Linked DNA regions of Homo sapiens: all the other regions are linked to region 1. Evidence: promoter capture Hi-C in 16 types of primary human blood cells and fetal thymus (Javierre and others, 2016). All regions are on one chromosome and are shown on one strand. The core of a region is centred on a gene start or on the middle of the fragment in contact, and the rest is flanking DNA. Distances in the headings are between cores, read along the strand shown.

What was found. Contacts are between HindIII fragments. The CHiCAGO score rates a contact against its expected background, and 5 or more counts as called.
Region 2: a fragment that was not itself captured here is called in contact with the fragment with the promoter of KIF26B in region 1 in 1 of 17 cell types (total B cells); the score reaches 5.8 in total B cells.
Region 3: the fragment with the promoter of SCCPDH here is called in contact with the fragment with the promoter of KIF26B in region 1 in 5 of 17 cell types (total B cells, fetal thymus, activated CD4 T cells and 2 more); the score reaches 18.0 in total B cells.
Region 4: the fragment with the promoter of TFB2M here is called in contact with the fragment with the promoter of KIF26B in region 1 in 3 of 17 cell types (fetal thymus, total B cells and naive CD8 T cells); the score reaches 16.1 in fetal thymus.
Region 5: the fragment with the promoter of SMYD3 here is called in contact with the fragment with the promoter of KIF26B in region 1 in 16 of 17 cell types (total B cells, fetal thymus, M1 macrophages and 13 more); the score reaches 34.3 in total B cells.
Region 6: a fragment that was not itself captured here is called in contact with the fragment with the promoter of KIF26B in region 1 in 11 of 17 cell types (endothelial precursors, M2 macrophages, M0 macrophages and 8 more); the score reaches 12.2 in endothelial precursors.
Region 7: a contact is called between a fragment that was not itself captured here and the fragment with the promoter of KIF26B in region 1, in 4 of 17 cell types (M2 macrophages, megakaryocytes, M1 macrophages and 1 more). The highest score is 9.3, in M2 macrophages.

What each region holds. Positions count from the first base shown.
Region 1 is chr1:245,153,143-245,156,456 of GRCh38, reverse strand. KIF26B (kinesin family member 26B) reads right to left here and starts at 1,472. Exons shown (of 15, transcript NM_018012.4): 1 at 970-1,472; 2 at 1-175. The coding sequence starts at 1,032. RefSeq lists silencers at 1-63, 1,931-2,130 and enhancers at 1,985-2,660, 2,661-3,314. The HindIII fragment of the contact is 4,692 bases long and covers 1-3,314 here.
Region 2 is chr1:246,766,631-246,769,944 of GRCh38, reverse strand. It overlaps SCCPDH (saccharopine dehydrogenase (putative)), which reads right to left. Exons shown (of 12, transcript NM_016002.3): 12 at 1,808-2,750. The coding sequence ends at 2,645. Among named protein-coding and RNA genes, the nearest start is that of LINC01341, 21 kb to the left of the region's middle. RefSeq lists a silencer at 1,184-1,478 and an enhancer at 966-1,624. The HindIII fragment of the contact is 7,322 bases long and covers 1-3,314 here.
Region 3 is chr1:246,722,876-246,726,189 of GRCh38, reverse strand. It overlaps SCCPDH (saccharopine dehydrogenase (putative)), which reads right to left and starts at 1,781. Exons shown (of 12, transcript NM_016002.3): 1 at 1,578-1,781. The coding sequence starts at 1,767. RefSeq lists silencers at 1,428-1,637, 1,738-1,807, 1,848-1,977 and an enhancer at 2,188-2,347. The HindIII fragment of the contact is 2,865 bases long and covers 1,116-3,314 here.
Region 4 is chr1:246,564,710-246,568,023 of GRCh38, reverse strand. TFB2M (transcription factor B2, mitochondrial) reads left to right here and starts at 1,763. Exons shown (of 8, transcript NM_022366.3): 1 at 1,763-2,198. The coding sequence starts at 1,886. CNST (consortin, connexin sorting protein) reads right to left here and starts at 1,568. Exons shown (of 11, transcript NM_152609.3): 1 at 1,361-1,568. RefSeq lists enhancers at 964-1,463, 1,504-1,563, 1,794-2,073. The HindIII fragment of the contact is 6,532 bases long and covers 832-3,314 here.
Region 5 is chr1:246,505,721-246,509,034 of GRCh38, reverse strand. It overlaps SMYD3 (SET and MYND domain containing 3), which reads left to right and starts at 1,756. Exons shown (of 12, transcript NM_001167740.2): 1 at 1,756-1,981. The coding sequence starts at 1,818. RefSeq lists silencers at 897-1,129, 1,619-1,798, 2,069-2,118 and enhancers at 1,804-2,304, 2,305-2,805. The HindIII fragment of the contact is 10,729 bases long and covers 263-3,314 here.
Region 6 is chr1:246,485,906-246,489,219 of GRCh38, reverse strand. All of the region lies in intron 1 of SMYD3 (SET and MYND domain containing 3), which reads left to right. Among named protein-coding and RNA genes, the nearest start is that of SMYD3, 20 kb to the left of the region's middle. The HindIII fragment of the contact is 4,168 bases long and covers 1-3,314 here.
Region 7 is chr1:246,434,216-246,437,529 of GRCh38, reverse strand. All of the region lies in intron 1 of SMYD3 (SET and MYND domain containing 3), which reads left to right. Among named protein-coding and RNA genes, the nearest start is that of SMYD3, 71 kb to the left of the region's middle. The HindIII fragment of the contact is 571 bases long and covers 1,455-2,025 here.

The DNA.
Region 1 (3,314 bases), core at 223-2,722:
AGCTCGGGGACGAGGTGCCCGAGCCGGGAGACGGGGTCCCCGAGGAGCCGAGCGCTGAGCCCGCGCCCTCAGGAGTGGGCCGGCTGCCGGCGCGCGACTCCTCGTATGCTTTCCGGTACCAGCTTTCCGGGGAGAAGGGCGCTGCGGGCTTGGTGGGCGAGCAGACTTCATTCACCTGCGGGGAAGACACGCCGGTGTCAGGGGCTGCAAGGCGGCGGGCTGCAGCGCCCAGGAGCTGGGTCATACGTGCGCCACCAAGTACCCGCTCGAACCGCCCACGGGAGTCGGTTGGGGACCTCTCCAAGCCCTGCGGCCAAATTGCCCTCCGTCTGTCTCGTTAATTGTCCTTAAGTGAGTCCCCACCGCCCAGGTGACCCCTGCGCTGGTCCCCGGTGGCCTCCTCCTGGGGTCAGGAAGGGGACTCGCTCGGGGCCGTTTCCACGGCTTCTGCAAGGCGGGGGGGATCCATAGGTTCAGCGCCCCACGCTTTTGAAGCCGGCACCTATCCCAGCAAGATCCCGGGAACAAAATCCTGGAAGACCCTATGGGGGGGGTAGGGGGAGGGCTGTGATTTCAGGATTTTTATTCATACGGGGTCCAACTCTCCGGATCCTGCAGGTAAACGAGAGGCTCTCACGGCTCCAGCTAAACGATCCGAGGTACTGCCCAGCATTCATGGGAAACCCTCCCCTTCGGCTTCACTCTGCCTAGAAGTGCAGGAATGCGGCAAAAGTTACGGGTGCGTGGAAAGGAAGGAACGAGAGGGCTGAAAAAATTCCGAGAGCGAGGCGAGCGTGCGGGCGTCCCCGCGGCCGACCCGCCTCCGCGCACTCACAACCCCGCCAGCCCCGGGGGCGCCTCTGCAGCGGGGGAGAGCTCGGGGCCGGGGCCGCACGATCCCGGGGAAAGGGGGACCTCCGCCGAGATGGGTCTGGTAACGCGTCTCCGCGTCGTACCGTCACAACTTACCCCGTATTTCTTGCCCCTGGTGGAGACCGCAAGCCTCTCTTTATTCCCAGCTACCGAATTCATGGTGGCTTTTCCAGAGGAGAGTATCTAAAGGTTCCACCGACGCTACATCCAGAAGGTCCTCCAACCCAGAAGCGTCCCCCGGCTGCAGGGGGCTGGCTCTCAGCCCTCAGGGCAAGGTTTCTTCAGCGGTGGGGTGGGAGGGAATGAAAGCAAATGGATCCCACAAGTAATAGCACCAATTTGCAGAAAGGGTTGGGGTCGCTGGTTTATTCTTCTCTTCAAAGCATGCTTTTCCTCGTCCCCTTCTGCCTCTTCCAGCCGCACGTCCTCTTGTCACGGCCACATCCACAGAACTGGCATTTTCTTCAGCCAAGTCAGTCCGTGCTCCCCCACGAGGAAAGCGAGGGATACAATCAGGGCTCGCGGCCGCTGCCGGGAAGGTGGGAGAGCCGAGCCGAGTCAGCTGTGGGAACTTGTCTCCTTCACCGAGCTTGGTAACTGAGTTCAAAGAAATTCTCCCAAAATATAAAGATCCAGACTCGGGGAGGAGCCTCGGCGTGTCGCCGAGCCAATATCCGCCGGCCCGTTTCGCCTGACAGTTGCGCGAGGGCCGGGAGAGGGGCGGCTCCGCGTGGCCCGGGAGCGGTCGGCGGTCACAGCGCGCGTGTGCGCCCGGGCGCAGCGCGGAGGAGCCTCGGGAACCTGCCGCCCTCGCCGCGCCGGCCGGGATCCATTTTATGTGGCGGCGCTCGTGCCTGACATTGCGAGGCCTGGAGCCGGGCTGGGGCTGGGGGCGGGGGATCGTCGATCTCGCCGCGTGCGGGGAAGTTCCTGGCGCGCGGCCCGGGCCCGGGGCTCTAATGAAACGCCGCTGCGCGAGCCTGGAGCCCGGGGGCCGCGCGAGCGAGCGTGGCTGGACGGAAATGCGGTGCCCCAGCCTCCCCCGCCCCCAAGTTCTTTCTCTTCCTGACAAGGCTTGCAGGTCTGTCTGTGAAACGCCGTGCAAAAGGGATTGAGTCACAAACAAGTCCACAAACATGCCGGGTCCTCCCCCCGCCCTTTGTTCTCGGAGAGCTGCCGGGCAAACCTTTTCTGGAATTGCCCTACCGACCCCGGGCCGGCCGGGGGGCCACCCTCCCCGACCGCAGCCGCAGGACTAGGGCCCTTGGTCCCCCGCCCGCCCGAGCCCCGGTCTGTGATGGACTAAGCCGCCCGGGGCTGGGACAGGTGAGCCTGGTGACCCAGCGGGCCGCTGCCGGGCAGGGGAAACTGAGGGCTTCGCCGCGCTGCACGCGGACGACTCTGGCCTGGAGAGGGGGTGTGGCGCGAGCTGGCCTTGGCCTCTCCTTGCGTGGGATCGGGCCCCTCGCCCCCCGCCGCCCGTTTCTTCCTGCGCCTGGGCCCCGCGGGGTCTCCGGAGCACCCCGTCATCGCTCCCTCTCCGATCGCCCCCCGCCCCAGTCCCCCGGCGCAGCGCCCAGGAGCGCAGGAAGCCGGCGTATGCCAGGCTCCACACGTGGCTGCTCTGGGGTGTCATTTTTCATTTCACGGGAGGACATTTCTTCTGGTGAGCCAGCAGGTCTGTTTTGTTGTGACCTTTAATTAACACCCCGCGAGACGCCTCTGGAAGGACTGGCCGGGCGCAGGGATCACGTGGGGTGTAACGGCATCTCCGCGCCCGCGGGGAGACCCAGCCCGGGGGTGGGCGAGGGCGCGAAGGACGTTCAGGGCTTTCTGGTCGCTGACTTCCTTCTGAGCTGTGGACGACGCAGGAGGGGGCAAGAAGACAAAGGTTCGGGGTTCTGGAAGCCTGGGGCCACGCCCCCACTCTGCCTTCCTCGGGGACAATTTCTTCTGTGCCTCCCGTGCTCTGCCCCACTCCTCCCCGCTCCAGCTCCTGCGCGGGAATATTTCACAGCCACCAAAGCGAGGTAAAAAGGTCAAAAGGAAGATGGCAAGAACAGAGTGGACGTTTCCGTTACGTTCCCACTTCCAATTTAAAAGCGATCCTATCAATAGGGGACCTTAGGGGGCAGGTACACCTCCAGGCAGCACGCGCCAGCTCCCACCCGCATCTGTATTTCGCGTAGGTGCCGCGAAACACATCATCGCCATTGGCCACGAGCCGCTTATCAGCCAAAAAGCAGCGTGTGGTGAAACGAGCCGGCGAGGCCGCGGGTGGGGAAGGTGGGGTGTCGAGGGGGAGTGTTGGGGAGCTGCGCGATCCACCTCGGAGACGGGGGAGCCCAGAGCTGCTCTGATTTGCATTTCTAAGTAGCTGGGGGCCCAAAGCGTGTTTGGTGGGCTCCGAGCGCCCTCTGTTGATTAAAGTTTATAACCGG
Region 2 (3,314 bases), core at 591-3,090, 1.6 Mb before region 1:
AAAGTTAAAAAAAAAAAAAAAGAAACGTTTTGTGGCCAAAGACAAACTACTACTACTTCTTCTTCTTTTTTTTTTTTTTTGAGACGGAGTCTTGCTCTGTCACCCAGGCTGGAGTGCAGTGGTGTGATCTCAGCACACTGCAACCTCTACCTTCTGGGTTCAAGCAATTCCTCTGCCTCAGCCTCCCTGAGTAGCTGGGATTACAAGGCATCCGCCACCAGGCCCAGCTAAATTTTGTATTTTTAGTAGAGACGAGGTTTCACCATGTTGGCCAGGCTGGTCTCAAACTCCTGACCTCAAGTGATCCACCCGTCTCGGCCTCCCAAAGTCCTAGGATTACAGGCATGAGCCACCGTGCCCAGCCCAAAGACAGACTTCTAATAACAACAGTAGTGATGACGTTGAAACTTAGTAAGTGCTTACACCATGTGCCAGGCACTAATCCAAGTGCTAAACATGTTAGCTCATTTAATTCTCACAATAATTCGATGAAGTTGAGTAACATGCCCAGGCCACTGTAAGCACAGAGGCTGATGCCAGAGCCTGCATTCCTAACTGTGATGGCCTGCTGCCTGACGGTGCAGGACTGTCCCTGGGAGTCCTGGCTGACATGCAGAAAAAATCAGGAAGGAGAAAATAAGGGGCGACAACCTCAATCCTTGCTCCCTAAAATATGAAGTTAAGGAAGGTCAAATAGGATGACGCCGAAGCTGCACTGGCAGGAGAGGCTGTCAAGGGCTCCAAAAAGGAACCTCTAGAAAGACAAAGGAATCTGGGCTAGTGATTTCAGCTTAAGAGCAGGGTCCAAGGATTCGTAAGGGAGGCATGGGTTTTGCTTGCAGCTCAGGTCCTGACCACATACACAAGTGAACTAAAAAAACTGCTGTAACCCTGGAACCCAAGCGTGGAGCACCTCGTGGTGACAGCCAGGACAGGGCCAGCAAAGGCATCACGGAATCCTGGGAAGACTCTGTCAGTGAGACCCCGTAACAGTAGAGGCTAGGCAGACTCCAGTCCTCTGGGCCTGGCCACTGGGAGCAGGAATGGCTTCTGTCTCTTGAACTGAGCCTCAACATTTTGGACAATTAGCAGTTTACTCACCTGAGGTGAGTCATATACTTTCAGCAAATGGGAGCAGGCAGAACCTTGGGGGATTAAAAGGAAAATCAGGATGAGACACACATGTACCTCAAGCCAGAGGATGGGGTCACACTGCTACCTTCAGAATCAGAGTCAATGCTCGAGCATACATTGCAAAGCTAGAAACAGGGACAGGATATGCAGCTTCACCCAGCGGTTCCCAAATGCATATCAAAAACACAGAGGCTTCGACCTCCCGCCCTCCTGAACGCAAGTTGCTGCAGGCACGGAGGAACCTGTTACTGTTTCGTGATTCAGATGTGCAGCTAGTCGTGGGCTCTATTGCTCCTGTACTGCTTTCTAATTTCACAGCCGATAAAACCTTTTCTAAGGTCCCACAAGTTAGGGCACAGCTGAGGATCTGTATCTTGTGATGACCAGGCCAGGACAGAGGAAGCAGAGTTAGGGTGGGGAATACTACCACCAAGAACACCCTCTTCGAGTTAGATACCCCCCGCTTCTTCTTACAGGCCTCTTTGAGTTAGATACCCTCCCCCACTTCTCCTTACAGGCCTCTTTGAGTTAGATACCGCCCCCTCTTCTTCTTACAGGCAGAGCAGAAGGGTCTCCCAACACAAATAATATTCCTAAATATTTTATGTTCCTCACTTTTTGGTAGAAATTCCATAAAGGAGTGGCTGTCTTGTTTAGGTAATGAACAACATGATTGCTATGTATATACGTGTTTATTATATGCTTATTACAAAAGAAAAAGTCTTTTGCCTTATTTTAGGGCTTCCATGTAAAACCTAGTTAAAATACAAAAAGTAAATTAGAGAAAAATTCTGCTTAGGTAGTGAAAATTGATAGCAACTTATAAGCTGTATCCTTAAAAACCTAGTCACAGATATAGAATTACGTAAAGATAAAATGATAAGCCTACTTATTGGCAAGAAACAGGTTAGGCCACTTAAGCAGCATGTTTCTACCACTATACAAATACATCGGCAGGTCCAAACATTAAACCACCATTCGATTGACAACCTTTTATTTTTCAACTTAGGTAACAGTCCAAAATCAGTGTAGATTGGCGAAAAACTAGGCAAAAATAGCAAAAAGTGCAGTTTAATTTAGCAAAGGCTCAAGACAGTATGTGGAAGGAAGGTGAGATTTCCCTCCTACTGCGGCAAGGCAAGCGGCAGTTACTGCCCGACAGTAACGATGGTGTGCGCACCCCCGATGAGAATGCTGCTGCAACACAGACTGGGACGCCGCCTCCCCCATTAGACCTGCCAGCTCATTCGTGAAAATCTACCAGGAACACATCAATGAAAAAAATATGTCAAATATGAGTTCTCTGTTATAAGCAATAAAATCACAAAATCAACTCAGATTTGAAATTTAGGGTAAGCTAGGACAATTTCCTACTTTTTAATATATAGATATTTTAGATTTGACAATCGTTTCCACATACACTCAGACAGGCTTACAGAAGAATTTCAAATATCAAATAGAGAAGCTGTTAATTCACGCACGTTATGACTTCAGTTAATTCTTCCAGTGTTTAGACTTCAGAGCTGCTAATAACACTAAACTCAATACCGTGTTTGTTGAGTCTGTCAATCAACTTTGTTTTGGAAAAAGCTGCTCCAGGTGTGAAGACCCCGCCCCTATAAAACAATAACAAGAGAAAACAGTGCACTCAGCTCCTCTCCAGTCTCCTATTTCACAGGCCTCACTATCAAATTGCTACAGAACCCCTGAAAACCCAAGTCTTCATGGTAATCACGGCTACCTTTGATTCCTTCCTAAAATCAGCCAAATGAGCAAGTAGCTATTAGTCAGGAGAAACTTGCACCACAGCCAACCCTATCTAGACTGGCTCTGTTCCTGGAGATACTGTTTCCATTCTATGCATGTGTTTGGTGGGTGCACTGTGCGCCATCACCCCGAAGAACCGCTGCTGTTTACAAGGACAGTCCTCAGACTTAGGGGGATTAAAGAAAGACCCGAATGGAATAAATTTAGATAATCAATTATTATGAAAGTGTAAACAGAACTTAAATTGGATGAAAAAGAAGTTTTTAAAAATATAATAGCTAACATTCATAAATGCTAAATATTTTCAAGGGGGACCTAGGTATTTGAAAAAATTTAATTAGATTTTACTATATACAAATTTTACTTTTATTAATCCTGTTTTAGGTCATGCCTGGTTTACTTCTCAGCAGCAG
Region 3 (3,314 bases), core at 532-3,031, 1.6 Mb before region 1:
TTTCGGACTGACTGTTAACATCAAAACCATCAGGGCTGGGTGCAGTGGCTCACGCCTGTAATCCCAGCACTTTGGAAAGCCGAGAAGGGTGGATCACGAGGTCAGCAGATCGAGACCATCCTCACTAACACGGTGAAACCCCGTCTCTACTAAAAAAATTAGCAGGGCGTGGTGGCGGGCGCCTCTAGTCCCAGCTACTCAGGAGGCTGAGGCAGGAGAATGGCAAACAAACAAACAAAAAACAAAAAATTAGAACTCTGAGGTGAAAAGCACACGCTATATAAACACACACAGGCTCATAAGAAAATAATTGGAATTAACTGGCTCAACTAAGTGATGCAGGTTTCAATAGGTGAAGGTATATCCCCCCACAATGAAACTTGATTTGGGCATTATATATGATAAGTGACTAGGCTGTACCGGTACGATCTTGCTGAGCCGAAAAAAGAAATGGAAGCATATATTTTCATAGTAAAATTACTTCTGTTGGAAAAATAACGACCAAAAAGCTCTTTGGTCAGAATTACGTGTTGGTAGTGTCAGCACCAAAAGCTGTAGGAGAGTCCAGCCTACGTGGTGTCTTCTGTACATAACCACGAACAAAAGCACTCCGAGCAGGGCATTGTATGAAAGTAGATTAAACAGAAAGAATGTAGTATTTCCAGAACTCTAATGGGTGTCTGTATAAGGGAAATCTACGGGAGTTAATAGCCAAATTTAAAGGCTACGGAGTCGTAAGTCAGATGTCTCCCCAGCCATGAAGGCAGCAGGATCCGTGTGTCTGTCTCCTCTCTGTCCCATCCTGCACCCCAGACTCGGGACAGGTCTTAGCATGGACAACGTCACTCAATAAATATATGCTCCTTCAATGCTTAGAGAATCAATAAATATATGCTACCTGAATGCTTAGATTATCAATAAATATATGCTACCTGAATGCTTAGATTATCAATAAATACATGCTACCTGAATGCTTAGAGAATACGTAAGCGTCTAAACCAGAAATACACACTTTTTATTCTCTGAAGAGGAAGACTGCTGGAGTATTCTTACACACAAAACAAGAAACTAAAACAGAATAGCCACAAAGACACTGTCAGTACAACTCGTAAGCTTGCTCTCCCGTCCTCAAAACACGAGGCAAAGGGAGACTCCGATCTCCAAGAGACCAAAGCCCTCCTCTCCTCTCCGACCAAACATCTAGAAACCCGCAGATTCAACAGGTGCCCCCGCTGCGGGGCAGGATGAAGCAGAGAGAGGGACAACTCAAGTTCTTGACCATTTCGCCAGGGGAGCTCCCCAAACTGAGGCAGAAATGCAAAAAGCGGGAAAGAGGAGAAGGAAAGAAAAAAAAATGTGTGTGTATATTATACACGCACGCGCACACACACATATAGTTAAGGAGGTGGGACAAAGCTATGGCAGTATTTGAAACATCTCTCCCTCTCCTCTTCTTGTCCTCACGCAGGGCTCGGGGACACGTAGGGCGCATCCCTGCGGGAGAAACGCTCGTTTGGGGCGATGCGGGGTCCCCGGCCCAGCCGCCCGCGCAGCCCCGTCCCGCCCCGCCGCTGTACCCAGCTTCAGGGCCGCCTTCTCCAGCACCCGCTGCAGCTTCTCCCGGGAGCGGCCCGCCACGGCCCAGGGCAGGCGGGAGCTCCGCTCCGGGTCCACCTGCTCCCGGGCCACCTCCTCGGTCACGAACTGGCCGGTGAAGCCAGACGCGCCGAACACCACCAGGTGGAAAGGCCTCTGCTCGGTCGCCATGACGAGTCCACAGCGAGCCCAGGCCCCGGGGCGGGTGGAGTCCACGGCGCCTGCGCCTCAGGCAGCGACCCCAGTACCCGGCGCAGCAACGGCCGCCGTCGCCGCAGCCAGCGCGCCGGGCTCCCTTCACCCCGCGCGCGCCGCCGCGCCAGGGCCGCGCCCACGCCCACGCCGCCTCGCGCGGGAGCCGCGGGTGAGCGGCTTGCTTGGGAGGCTTCCGACGGGAGGTTTCCTAGGGCGGTGGCCCTGGGGGCGAGTCCGCTTCCAAGCCTGGCAGGCGCGGACGGCGGCCCCTAATTCCGTGCGGCGGTTTGTTCTGCAGGGCTCTGGCCGCCCCGGGCAGCGCATCTTCTAGCCCTGCTGGAAGCTGGAGGCGGCAGCCGGTTGTCCTTGTTGCACGTGGGGGTGGAGCAAAGAGTGCGAGAAAATCTGCGGATGGCCTCGGGGATGGCCCACCCCGAGAACCCTTGAGCTTGCTTGCTTTCTTCCTTTCTTTCTTCCCTTTTTTCCCTTTCTTTTCTCTTTTCTGTTTTTGAGATGGAGTCTCACTCTGTCGCCCAGGCTGCAGCGCAGTGGCGCGATCTCGATTTACTGCAACCTTCGCCTCCTGGGTTCAAGCGATTCTGCCTCAGCCTCCCGAGTAGCTGGGATTACAGGGGAGCGCCCCCACGCCCTGCTAATTTTTGTGTTTTTAGTAGAGATGGGTTTTCACCTTGTTGGCCAGGCTGGTCTCGAACTCCTGACCTCAGGTGATCCACCCACCTCGGCCTCCCAAAGGGTCGGGATTACACGCATGAGCCACTGCACCCAGCCCATTCCTGATTTTTAAAAACTCTCATTAAAATAGGAATAAATGAATGCTTTTAAAAATTTTGAAATATATGTCTTGCAAAAAAGGTACAGCCAATAACAAATATGTACCCTCAACACAGCTTAAGAAAAATATTCCAGATAGCGAGGCTTCCAGGTATTCATTCCTGAACACATTTCCTTTTGCGTCCCCAAGACGGCCACTTGCCTGAATTTAGTGTTTATTATTCCTATTCCTATCTTTCTGCTTGTTATATATGTATGTATTTATAAATATTATAGTACCGTTTTGCATATTTTGAATATTTTGTAAATGTCAATCCTGCAGCTTTCTTATTTGGTCATGATGTCGTGAACTTATTCCCAAATGATTCAGAATAAAAAAAAATGTCTGTGATACGTGTGTGGAGAGAGGGAGAGAGAGAGAAATACACCAAATTCTACAATGCTTTTGTACAATGTTGTATAGTGCTTTTGTGCAATATAATACAAAGAATGCTACAATAAAATTCTTGTACCTTTCTCCTAAAGCACCTGTGCGAAAGTGTATTGAATATGTGTCAGGAATGAAAATGGTTGGTGCTAGAATATCCATATTTGAGTTATCTCACTGCTCTTTAAAGCACATGCACTAATTTTCGCTCTCAGCGGGATACAAGAATCCTCTTGCTTTACGTGCTTGTCAGCACTTGGTATTCTCAGACTTCATGCTTGTCCATCTGGTGGGTGTAAAGTAG
Region 4 (3,314 bases), core at 514-3,013, 1.4 Mb before region 1:
CAGCCACCACAGTGTTTTTTTTAAAAAGTCAGAAATTCAACGACACATTTCTATGAGTGAACCATGAAGACATAATTCTATTTTATCTGATTTAAAAATATTTAGGACTCCAGGTCCTGGAGGGGGAAAAAAGTGTATTTCTGAATCTATGAAAATGTTTTTTAAGGGGAGAGGGGGAGGCAGCTCAGTAATGGAGAGAGGTTCAGAGGATGCAAAGTCACCTCTAGAAAATTGTCAGTGAGAAAACTGTACGAAAAAAGAATTTAAGCAAATTAAGACCAATGAGTGAGTCCCCACAGTTTGCACAACAGTTGATGAGATATTTTCTATGATGTCCTAACAAATTTATAATACACAAAAGGTCATATTTAGTTGTCAATTCTTTATCCGCTTGAGCTTCATCAGATGAGTATAATCTTCAGACTATTTGCTGGGTGATACATTCCTTAGGAACCTTTTCCTCGTGCATTTAAATGCCAAACTCAATTACACTCTCAGTAGAGTAAGCAGAAAGGATTGTACGTATTCTAAGACACGGAGTTGATTGGCTGCCGTTTCTTGCCTTGGTGGTAAGGATAATGGGTAAAAGCTCTAAGTTTGATCCTGAAACACGGAAAACACTCTCAAAGAACCGTGTCTTCTAACATTGCCCAATAGGTAAAAAAAAAAAGACTGCCAAAATTTCCATTACAGCATCCTATTTTTAGTCTTCAAAATTGGGTCTTTTAAATCGCATTCCACAGTACGATGTGTTTGACTAAGTTTACATAAGGAATACAGTAAGCATCCTAAAGTCTTAATCTTTTTAAGCTTAGAAAGGAATTGTAAGCTTTTACATCTTCATTTTTAATCTTAACTTTAAGTCTTTTAAACACACAAACTGAAAAAATTAAGGAAAATATTGGCCCAGAGAGAGGAATGGAAGGGAGACACCACGCGGTTCTTGACAACCAAAGTGGTAGTGATGGGGGGGACCAGGTGTGGGGGGGAAATGAAAACCATCCACGAGGGTGGGGAGAGCGGGCTGTGGGCCACACAACAGAAAGGAACGGAGACCGTGGAAGCCGCAGGCTCCTCCAGGAGCCGGGTGAGGAACGACTTCTGGCGCTAGTCCCCTAGGGAGGGAGAAATTGGCGCGACGCGCAGCAATAGGAGACCCACAGTAGCTGAGAAAGGAGAGGAAAACAGGCGACCTGAGAGGCGGAGGAGGTAAGGGGACCGGGCTACACCTCACCCGGAGGGCAGAGGCTGCGCGGCTGGAGGAGGACAGCGCAGGGGGAGGAGCGAGAGGCTTCCGAAAGGCTTTCCATCCCGGCCGCGAGCCGGCGGGTCCCCTGCATCCCGCTCCTCCTCTCCTCACCTGGGAATCGGAGGCGCAAGGAGGGCTACCGCTGGGCGCCGGGTCTGTTTCCAGCCCCACTCGGCGACATGGCGGCCGACGTGCTGTCACGGAGCTTGCTCGGGTCTCCCCTGGCTCCGGTGGAGGAGACACCTCTCGCCTTTCCGCCCCGCCTCCCTCTGCGCACCCCTCGCGGCTGGCCGGCTGGAGGCTGGCGGCCCGCGACCGCGGAGCATAGAGCACTGGCGGCTAGAGAGGAAGCGCAGAGCGCGGACAACCATAGAGTACGAGTCCGGACACCAGCCGGATGGTCGGTCGCTCTCCTCAACGGTCCACTCACAATCCTCGGGCGGCTGAGCCGAGGCGGAAGCGGAAGTGAGGGAGAAAAGCAGGAAGGCTCCGCTGTTCGCATGCGCAGGCTCTAGTGTTTACTTCCGCTTGACCTGGCCCGGACGCCAGAAAATGTTCCACGTGGGATACCCTGCGTGGGGTTCACTGTAGTAGCTGCACTAGGTGATTCTTGGAGCGGGCCTGAGAGACAAGGACATGTGGATCCCAGTGGTCGGGCTTCCTCGGCGGCTGAGGCTCTCCGCCTTGGCGGGCGCTGGTCGCTTTTGCATTTTAGGGTCTGAAGCGGCGACGCGAAAGCATTTGCCGGCGAGGAACCACTGTGGGCTCTCTGACTCCTCTCCGCAGCTGTGGCCCGAACCGGATTTCAGGAATCCGCCAAGGAAGGCGTCTAAGGCCAGCTTAGACTTTAAGCGTTACGTAACCGATCGGAGATTGGCTGAGACCCTGGCGCAAATCTATTTGGGAAAACCAAGTAGACCTCCACACCTACTGCTGGAGTGCAATCCAGGTGAGTCCAGCTGAATTGCATTTTCTTGGATGTTCATCATTTATTCAAACGTATTGACCCTCCTCGGGGTGCTATTTTAGATACTGGGGGGTCTTTTTTGTTGTTCTTTTGCTTTGAGACGGAGTCTCGCTGTGTTGCCAGGCTGGAGTGCAGTGGGGCGATCTCGGCTCCCTGCAACCTCCGCGTACCGGGTTCAGGCGATTCTCCTGCCTCAGCCTCCCGAGTAGCAAGAACTACAGGCGCGCGCCACCACGCCCAGCTAATTTTCTTATTTTTACTAGAGACGGGATTTCGCCGTGTTGGCCAGGATGGTCTCGATCTCTTGACCTCGTGATCCTCCCCCCTAGGTCTCCCAAAATGCTGGGATTAGAGGCGTGAGCCACTGCGCCCGTCCAGATACGGGTCTTTGTTTGAAGCTCCTTAGTTGGAGAGATTGCCCACTACATAAGCGTAGAGTCTGTATCGTTAATGACACCACAAAGTATTTCTGTAGCAGCTTGCACTTTACACAATATTTTGATAAAACATGCTCTTAGATCTTATCTCCCCAAAAGAGTTGCAAGCCTCTGCCAGCTGAAAAAATGATGTTATCTTATTCTTCCGTGCATTCCCTATAGACCATAGCAGGATGCTAAGAACACAAGATTTATAGGCTTTTTGAATGATAGTTTTTTAAAGCACCATTTCATATCACAGGGAGTCAGTTCTGTTTAGGCTTGACAATCTCTTTGATGGTTAAAGCATCCGTGTAGTCCGTGAGGAAGTGATAGGCTAGAGGCAATCTATTTTGCTGTGACTTTTTTCTTCTAAGAGGTAGTGAATCATGGTGATGAAGAGTGCAAGTTTTGACCTGGTGCGGTGGCTCACGCCTGTAATCCAGCACTTTCAGAGGCCGAGGCGAGTGGTTCCCTTGAGGTCAGGAGTTCCAGACCAGCCTGGCCAACATGGTGAAACTCCGTCTCTGCTTAAAATACAAAAATTAGCCGGGCGTGGTGGCGGGCGCCTGTAATCCCAGCTACTCGGGAGGCTGAGGCAGGAGAATCGCTTGAACCCAAGAGGCAGAGGTTGCAGTGAGCCGAGATTGCCCCACTGCACTCCAGCCTGGGTGACAGAGTG
Region 5 (3,314 bases), core at 507-3,006, 1.4 Mb before region 1:
GTGGAGGGGGCTGAGATTGGCTTTCACTGCACCAAGCCACAATGTGGACGTGGATTTGCCGGCCCTGCAGTGCACACAGCACTGCTTCTGACCAGGACACCCCATTCACAGCTGGGGATGTGCAGCATTGCGCTCCCACCTCAGGGCCTTGGCTCTGCCACCTCGACTTGGAATGTTCTCAGCTCCCTCCAGGCTTCTAGAAGCATCTGGGACACAGCTCATGGCTGGATAAGCACCCGAGGCCCCACAACCCAAACAAGCTTCCCATCCTCATTTTATTTTTTGTCAAACTTATGAAAATTTATTAAGATATGACTTACATCCCTGGTAAGTGCACAGCTTAAAAGATATTCACAGATGGAACACACCAGCCCCCAGATCACAAAGCCAACCATGCCCAGCCCCTCCCAACACCCCCAGCCCTGAAACCAGTGTTCTGACTTCTGACAGCACCACGAGCCTGCCTTTTGTACTTTACACTCATGGAAGCATAACCACCTTCATGTTTTAAAATAAATGTTTACTTTTGAAATGACTTTAGATACACAGAAAAATTGAAAGGCACTATAGTGTACTCCTACACCTTCCATCCAGCTGCCCTTAATAATGACATTTTGCATTACCATGGCACGTTTGTCCAAACTAAGAAATTTAGGCCGGGTGGGCTGGGCGCGGTGGCTCACGCCTGTAATCCCAGCACTTTGAGAGGCCGAGGCGGGCGGATCACAAGGTTAGATCGAGACCATCCTGGCTAACACGGTGAAACCTCGTCTCTACTAAAAATACAAAAATTAGCCGGGCGTGGTGGCAGGCGCCTGTAGTCCCAGCTACTCAAGAGGCTGAGGCAGGAGAATCGCTTGAACCCGGGAGGCAGAGGTTGCAGTGAGCCAATATCGTACCACTGCATTCCAGCCTGGGCGAGAATGAGACTCCGTCTCAAAAAACAAAACAAAACAAAACAAACCCCAAAAACAAAAAAGAAAATTAAGCTGGGTGTGGTGGCTCACACCTGTAATTCCAGCAATTCGAGAGGTCGAGGCAGGAGGTTCAGGTTCACTTGAGGCCAGGAGTTTGCGACTAGCCTGGGCGACATAGGTAGACTGTCTCTGGAGGAAAGTAAAAAGCATTAGCCAGGCATGGTGGCGTGAGCCTATAGTCCCATCTAGTCAGGAGGCCCAGGCGGGAGGATTGCACATGCCTGTAGTCCCAGCTACTATGGAGGCTGAGGCAGGAGAATCGCTTGAACCCGGAGGTCAGAGGTTGCAGTGAGCCGAGATCTCGCCACTGCACTCCAGCCTGGGCGACAGAGCAAGACTCCGTCCTAAAACAAAAAAAAGTTACAGTGCAAAGTACTAGTTGTGATGTCATGATGCCTGCAACTTTGAAATAGTTTAACGACAATACGTGTATACATAGCTACAGGTGGGGAGAGAGTGACGAGCAGAAATGGCAAAGTGCTAGGTTGTCTGATTTAGGCGGAGGTATATAGGTGTTCACTGCACTGTTTTCAACTGTTCCGTATGCGTTAAAATGATCGTAATACAATGTTAGAGGGAGAAAAAAAACCCCGCCTGTCTTCTGCGCAGTCGCCATGGGCACGAGCCGCACGCGGAGCCTTACGACCACCTTCAGGTCCCACACACTCCACTCCAGCCGTCCCTCCAGACTCCATCTGCGCATGCTCTTGCCCCACCGCGCCCGCCCCGCCCCTCGGGCGTACGTGTGCGCGCAGGGCGCAGGCGCGCGGGTCCCGGCAGCCCGTGAGACGCCCGCTGCTGGACGCGGGTAGCCGTCTGAGGTGCCGGAGCTGCGGGAGGATGGAGCCGCTGAAGGTGGAAAAGTTCGCAACCGCCAAGAGGGGAAACGGGCTGCGCGCCGTGACCCCGCTGCGCCCCGGAGAGCTACTCTTCCGCTCGGATCCCTTGGCGTACACGGTGTGCAAGGGGAGTCGTGGCGTCGTCTGCGACCGCTGCCTTCTCGGGTGCGTAAGGAGCGCCCTCGCCTACCTGAGTCGCGAGCTGTGTGGGGTGCTGGGGAGGGGGGGGCGTCGGGCGGCCGGCAGCCGCGGGACTCCTGCTGGATGGGGCTGCACAGGCAGCTTGGCGGTGCTGCCCCTGACGCGCGTGTGCCCGGGGGCGGGTCGCTGCTGACAGGCCCCGCCCGGACACCCCCCTAGGTTGCCGCAGCGGGGCTGGGAGGGGGCCCAGGCTCAGCCACTGCCCCCCAACCTGGGCTGCGGTGGAAATGGGAAAGCCATTGGGCAGACTTGAGGGGGAAGCGTTGTGCCGGGGATAATTTTGCTGGGAGACGAAAAGTCTGTGTGCTGGACAGTCTTCCTTGGTGCGGCTGTGGAAATCACACGTGGCGGGCGTGGGGCTGGGTGGGAGCTGGGATGAGTATAAATCAGGCTCCCCTGCAGAGGCCCCGCCGGTAAAGCATCAGGCTTGCAGCAGGTGGAAGAATCTTGATGTCTACGGTGCACCTCTGTGGTCTGGGTTGTGTGTGGCCTGGGGATACGAAGAGGAACGGGACCTCCTCAAAGAGCTGATCAAGTGAGAGAGAGAATTACAGTGTACCAGAAGGGCTGAAATAGAGGGGCAATTAATGTGCTGTGGGAGCATCAGACACGGGTCCCCCGTGTGCTGTGCCATTTAATGGCTGTGCAGGCATGTCTAACTCTTAACCACCATTCTAGATGCAGGGATTCACGTGAAGGTGTTTTGGAAGCCTGGACGCGCTGTGCCGGTGTAAAGTGCTATGTGAAAGCAATTTATGGAAATGTGTAACATACATGAATAATAGGAACTGCATTCAGTCAACAAATATTATTGAGCTTCTGTGTGCGAGGAAGAAGAGTTCTATTTTGAGATGAGTGCGATGATTTTGTGCATGGCCGCTTTTCAGACCTGCCAGTCTGAGATTTAGGTGGGTGGAGGTGGGACGGTAAGTGCAAAACTCGTATCTGTAATTTGACCATTGTTCTTACTTTGTTCTCATTTGATTCATAATTCAGGAATATGACTTTGCATTTTAGAGCTACCAAATAATAATTTTGTCTGTTGCTTTCTGAAGTAATGATAACAGCGAAAACATCTGTTCGGGAGAGAGCAGCATCTTGAAGTTTTTGTAAACTGTGTGGTTGAAAACAATTCGTTCCTTTCAAGATAGTTCTTGGAACAGAAAAGTTTTGGAATGAATAAATGGTGACAAATTGGCAATTGAATCATTAGAGCTGAAGTTGAGTCTTGTGACACACGGAATTGTGCATTTCCAAAATAAGCTACACAAACCCTTTGTGGGTGGGATGCTTGTTG
Region 6 (3,314 bases), core at 410-2,909, 1.3 Mb before region 1:
CGCCCGCCACCACGCCCGGCTAATTTTTTGTATTTTTAGTAGAGACGGGGTGTCACCATGTTAGCCAGGATGATCTCAATCTCTTGACCTCGTGATCCGCCCGCCTCGGCCTCCCACAGTGCTGGGATTACAGGTGTGAACCACCGCGCCCGGCCTGCATTGCTTCTTCAGAAGTGACCTACCATTCACCTCCCTCAGAATGACTGGGGAGTGGGAGGTGGAGAGAGAGAGAGAGGACTTGTTAAAAATCTGGCTCTCAGTGCCTCTCCGGAGAATATCTAGTGTTTTAAGGCACAGAATCTACATTCTTGCCAAGCTCCCTGGGTGACGCTGGTACTCATAAAATTTTGATACCTGTTTACCTACAGGATGGAGACGCATTCCTTTTGCAATCTGTCTTCTGTCTACTTTATTGGTCTTATTGGCACTAAAGTTTGAGGACACTAGGGCTAAATCCATAGTAGTTTTATATGAATATTTGCAGCAGTTGTAAATAACAGCCTGCTTAAAATCTCTATTTTTATTTTTTCTTTTGAGACGGAGTCTCACTGTGTCACCCAAGCTGGAGTGCAGTGGTGCGATCTCGGCACACTGCAACCTCTGCCTCCTGGGTTCAAGCTATTCTCCTGCCTCAGATTCCCCAGTACCTGAGACTATAGGCATGCACCACCACACCTGGCTAATTTTGTATTTTTAGTGGAGACAGGGTTTCACCAGGTTGTCAGGGCTGGTCTTGAACTCCAGACCTCAGGTGATCTGCCCGCCTCGGCCTCCCAAAGTGGGATTACAGGCATGAGCCACCACGCCCAGCCTAAATCTCTGTTATTTTTTTCTGTGCTTAGCTTGGACTTTTTCTGAGCACCCTTCACTTTCTTCTGTTTTTGCTTTTTGACTGAATTTCTTGAACTTGACCTTTCTGTATCAGAGATCTATAGTAATACCTTTCTTCTGTTAGTTTCAGTCAAGATGTACAAGTCAAGCTGGCAGATGATTCTAGAAGTCTATTTTAAAATGCCCAGACTTCTTTTTAATGAAATTACCTGTGTAATAACTACCTTTAATATAATAATTTTTCGGTCACAGATCAAATACATGGATTTAATTGTAGTTTGGAGCCCAACTTTTAATGAGCAGGATTTAATGAATGAGGCACTTGTGGAAGATCAGTTTATTACGAGGTCACATGATTCATGTGGCCACCATGCATAGGAAATGCTAAAAGGGAGGGCCAGGCGTGGTGGCTCACACCTGTAATCCCAGCACTTTGGGAGGCTGAGGCATGCAGATCACCTGAGGTTGGGAGTTCGAGACCAGCCTGACAAACATGGAGGAACCCTGTCTCTACTAAAAATACAAAATTAGCCGGGCTTGGTGGTGCATGCCTGTAATCCCAGCTACTGGGGAGGCTGAAGCAGGAGAATCACTTGAACCCAGGAGGCAGAGGTTGTGGTGAGCTGAGGTCGCGTCATTGCACTCCAGCCTGGGCAACAAGAGTGAAACTCCATCTCAAAAAAAAAAAAAAAAGATCTGAGTGGAGCCTAAGTTAGACACTGGGCATGGTTTTCTGCAGTAGGGTGAAATTGCTTGTAACTATTTTTCTTGTATTTTGAGACTTCTGTTTTTTTACATTTTCTTTCTATAGATGAACACATTCTTTGATTGTCTCCTGGTTGTTTAGGGTGGTGCTCACTCTTTCAGGTACTCAGAACATTGTATCTTTTATCACATTTACCACCTTGTATTTTAACTTTTTTTTTTTCCAGACAGAGTCTTGCTCTGTTGCCCAGGCTGGAGTGCAGTGGTGCAATCTCGGCTCACTGCAACCTCCACCTCCTGGGTTCAAGTGATTCTCTTGCCTTAGCCTCCTGAGTAGCTGGGACGAGTAGCTGGGATTACAGGTGCGCACCACCATGCCTGGCTAATTTTTGTATTTTAAGTAGAGATGGGGTTTGGCTATATTGGCCAGGCTGGTTTCAAACTCCTGGCTTCAAGTGATCCACTCGCTTGGCCTCCCAGAGTGCTGGGATTACAGGCGTGAGCTACCATGCCCAACCATATTTCAACTATTTGAACCAGTAATTATTAAATACTTTTTTTACCTCCTCTGGAAGCTCTTGGATGCAGGTATTGTGTCTTGTACCGTCAATGTCTACCCATTCTGACTGTTCTTATTTAAACAAAATTCTTCAGTATAGTTCTAGACCATATTTTCTATTAGTATAGGTGGGTAATTTTATTTATTTTGTTGTCTTGGAGACCAGTGGATCTTTTGCTTTCCTTATATGTCCATGGGCCTACCTTTTTGAACAGTGTTATGCTCCTCTAAGTCTTATCTCCTTTCTTTAAATGTTGTATATTGGAGAACTATACCATTGCTTTGATCATCAATGAGAATGAGTATGATGAGTGAATTAGTTTTTTTGGGGGTGGTGAGATTACTTTTTTTGAAGATCACTTTTTAATTAGTATTATTCATCTGTTTGTCTACATGGTATACTGAAAAATAGGACTGTACTTGGAGAAGTAAGTCTTAGGTTTGAGCGCTGCTTCCATTTGCTAGATTTGTGACCTTGGGCAAATCACTTAATCTCTTTGATTTTCATTTTCTTCATCTACAGAATGAATGAAATGGGGTTATAATTCCTATCTGTGTCATAGGATTTTAGTGAAGAGCAAATGACTTAATCCAGAGCATTATATAAATGTGAGGTATTATAATCTTCACACTTATCCCTGAAATAAATATTTTAGAGATTAAATATCAATTCAAGAATTGGAGTGGGGTTTCAATTTTTCACTTTTGGCCTAAAAGGTCAGAAGTTCAGGTAGTTATTAGATGAATATCACCTATACTTGGGTATGGAATCTTCTATTATTACCCATTCTAGAGGAATTTGAACCTGTTAATACTTATGTCATATCTGTTAAGGAGCTTTGTTGTCAGATAGATTCTGGTCCAGGTTCTGATGATGCCGTTTACTAATTTCATGAACCTGCAAACTGACTAGCTAAACCTTAGTTTTCCCATTGGTAAAATGGGGTTAACAACAATAATAAAAACAACCTTATAAGATTAGTTAAAAGAACAAATGAGATAATCTATGATAAAGTGTTCAGCATCCAGCGTAAAGCCTGGGATATTATATGTGACTGATAAGTAAGCAGTAATGATACATTTTACTCAGTATAGAGGAGGATGATGGTCAACACTTAAGGAATACTTGCTTTCTGTCAGGAATGAGTCCATGGGCTTTAGTGTGCATTATCTCATTTAGTCTTGCAAAATCTTCTGAGGTCTCTCTTTATATTATTCC
Region 7 (3,314 bases), core at 491-2,990, 1.3 Mb before region 1:
CTTTTGTTTTTTAACCCATCAGATTGCTGAGGTTATAGGGCAATCGGCTAGCTTGACGTCTAAGAAGAGACAGATGTAGGGAAAGACATCAGCACTTGCTTACCTGGGGCACCCACAGCTGGACACTGGTAAGCATTCAGCTAGAATAGTTAACCAAATTGATGGATGCTGCATGTGGGCTGGCAAGAAAGTGTGAAGACCCTGGGAACTGTGGATGAGGGGAGTTCATACCCACCTGTAGGCTTTTTCTCCAAAAACTCTACCAGGTGCTCCCAAAAAGACAGGTGAGATTCCTGAGAAAGCATTCTTTGTCTCTAGGAGAAGAGCAGCTGCTGCAGATACAGTAAGAAACTCTGAAATCCCAGCACTGTGGGAGGCTGAGGTGAGTGGATCACCCGAGGTCAGGAGTTCGAGACCAGCCTGACCAACGTGGTGAAACCTTGTCTCTAATAAATACAAAAAATTAGCTGGGTGTGGTGGCGGGTGCCTGTAATCCCAGCTACTTGGGAAGCTGAGGCAGGAGAATCGCTTGAACCCGGGAGGTGGAGGTTGCAGTGAGCCGAGATTGTGTCACTGCACTTCAGTCTGGGCGAGAGTGAAAACTCTGTCTCAAAAAAAAAAAAAAAAAAGAAAGAAACTCTGGCAGGACCCTTATTCCCTATCGTCCTTTTCCCTTCTACTGAATGAAAGCAGAGAAAGGACAAAACAATGACCATTACCTTTGGGGCTCTGGTGAAAACCCTTTACACCTGGGGAAAATAGAAGTAATAGAAGTAAACCTGCCCTTGGGGGCGGGAGCATGTTGGGTCACAGATTGGAGGAGACTAACGAAGCAGGACATCTAAATACATCTTTACCTTGTGGAACAGAAAAAGAACATGATTTAGGCAAGACACCTGCCTAAATAACTGATCATTACTCTTCAAAAGTATCAAGTGTCAAAGACAAGGAAAGACTTAGGAATTATGACAGATCGGAGGAGACTAGGGAGGCAGGAACCTAGATACTTTCTATGTATTACTGTGGTGATGTCAATGTTAAGGGAAGCTGAGTGAAGGGGTAGATGGGAATCCTCTGTGCTATTATTGTGACTTTTATGTAAGTGTAAAATTATTTTAAAATCAAAGGGGAAAACATTGTAGGCCCCCCTTTTAAACTGCTGCCTGAGATAGTCTATAAGAACAAAGTTCTTGCCTTCAATTATTGGAGATTGAAATTTGTAACTTTTAGTTCACTTTAGGAAAATTAGGTTCTTTTTTTGTTTAAGTCCATGTTTCCATGAAGGAAGATTAGGTTCTTTTTCAACTTTCTTCTATTGTTGTATAGTTTTTTTTTTTTTCAAATAAGAAAGAATGGTTCATAGTTTTTCTCCCGACACATTTCATAGCCTTTATATTTTCTCTCTCAAGTGGGTGAAGGAAATTTGAATATGTAACTACTACCCACTGAAAGCTTCTGGTTTAATAATTTTAAAAAAACTTGCCACCTATTTCCAACCCATGTTTTCATTACTGACCCAGGAAATGTTGAGTAACAACTATGTGAGAAGTACTGTGCTGGAACCCGTGATACAAAGACTATTAAGGTCAGTGTCTGCCCTCGATAAACCTTCAGGGAAATGTAGCAAAAACTCTAATAGAGGGAAATTCAAATGCCACGTGGGACATTCTAATTAATGTAGCTTCATTTAGCGTGTTTTGTCCAGTTTCCTTGTATCTTCTCCTTGGAATTCTTGGAATTCTTGTATCTTCTCCTTGGAATTCTTGGAATTCTTGTATCTTCTCCTTGGAATTCTTGGAATTCTTGTATCTTCTCCTTGGAATTCTTCTATCATTTAGAGTCTCAACGCTATTACTCTTCCCTTATTCCCCCTTCCTCATTCAAGCTATTTTGGAATTCTCAGGAGTTCCTGATGTTTTCCTAACTTAGAGAAAAGCAGTGGCTTTGTCCTGACTGTTCCTTATCTAGTATTACAGTTACTCAGAATACCTCTTTGCGTAACACACTACCCTTACCAAAGAAGCTTCAGAGTCTGAATATAAAGTTTTCACTTAACATTTTGCTGCTTTGTTTTGTTTATTCCATGGTCTCTTCATAGAATAAAACAGTTAACTTATGAAATCCGTGAAACCTCTTTGGAAAAAAATGTATATACATTTTGCAATAATTTCAGATAATCACAAACACATTCTTTAAAAAAAAATAATTTCAACTTTTATTTTAGATTCAAGGAATACATGTGCAAGTTTGTGGCATGGGTATATTGTGTAATGCTGAGATTTGAAATAGGGATGATCCTGTCACCCAGGTAGTGAGCATAGTACCCAATAATTTTTCAATCCTTGCCTCCTCCTTTCCTCTTCTCCTTTAATAGTCACCAGTGTCTATTGTTGCCGTCTTTATGTCCAGCAGTACCAGTGATTAGCTCCCACTTATAAGTGTGAACTACATGTTATTTGGTTTTATTGTTTTGCATTAATTTGCTTAGGAGAATAGCCTCCAGCTGTTTCCATGTTGCCGCAAAGGACATGATTTTGTTCTTTTTTTATGGCTAAGTATTCCATGGGGAGCAGAATACTATTCCACACACACCCCATGTTTTCTTTATCTAAACCACTATTGATGTACACCTAGGTTAGTTCCGTGTTTTTTGCTATTGTGAGTAGTGCTGCAACAAACATATACGTACATGTGTCTCTTTGGTAGAACAATTTCTTTTCTTTTGGATAGATACCTACTAATGGCATTGCTGGGTCAAATGGTAGCTCTGTTTCAAGTTCTTTGAGAAATCTCCAAACTGCTTTCCACAGTGGCCGAACTAGGTTACATTCCCACTAACAGTGGATAAACGTTCCCTTTTCTCTGCAGCCTCGCCAGCATCTGTTCTGTTTTGACTTTTTAATAAAAGCCATTCTGACAGGTGTGAGATGGTATCTCATTGTGGTTTTGATTTGCATTTCTCTGATGATTAGTGATGTGGAACATTTTTTCATGTTTGTCTGCCGCTTGTGTGTCTTCATTTGAGAAGTGTCTATTCATATATTTGCCCATTTTGTATTGGGGTCATTTGTTTTTTGCTTGTTGAATTAAGTTCATTATAGATTTTGGATATTAGACCTTTGTCGGATGACAAATAGACAAATTCACAGTTTGTGAATATTTTCTCCCATTCTATATGTTGTCTGTTTACTCTGTTGATAATTTCTTTTGCTGTGCAGATGCTCTTTATTTTAATTAGGTTCCACTTGTCAATTTTTGTTTTTGTTGCAATTGCTTTTGAGGACTTAGTCACACATTCTTTTCTAAAGCTGATG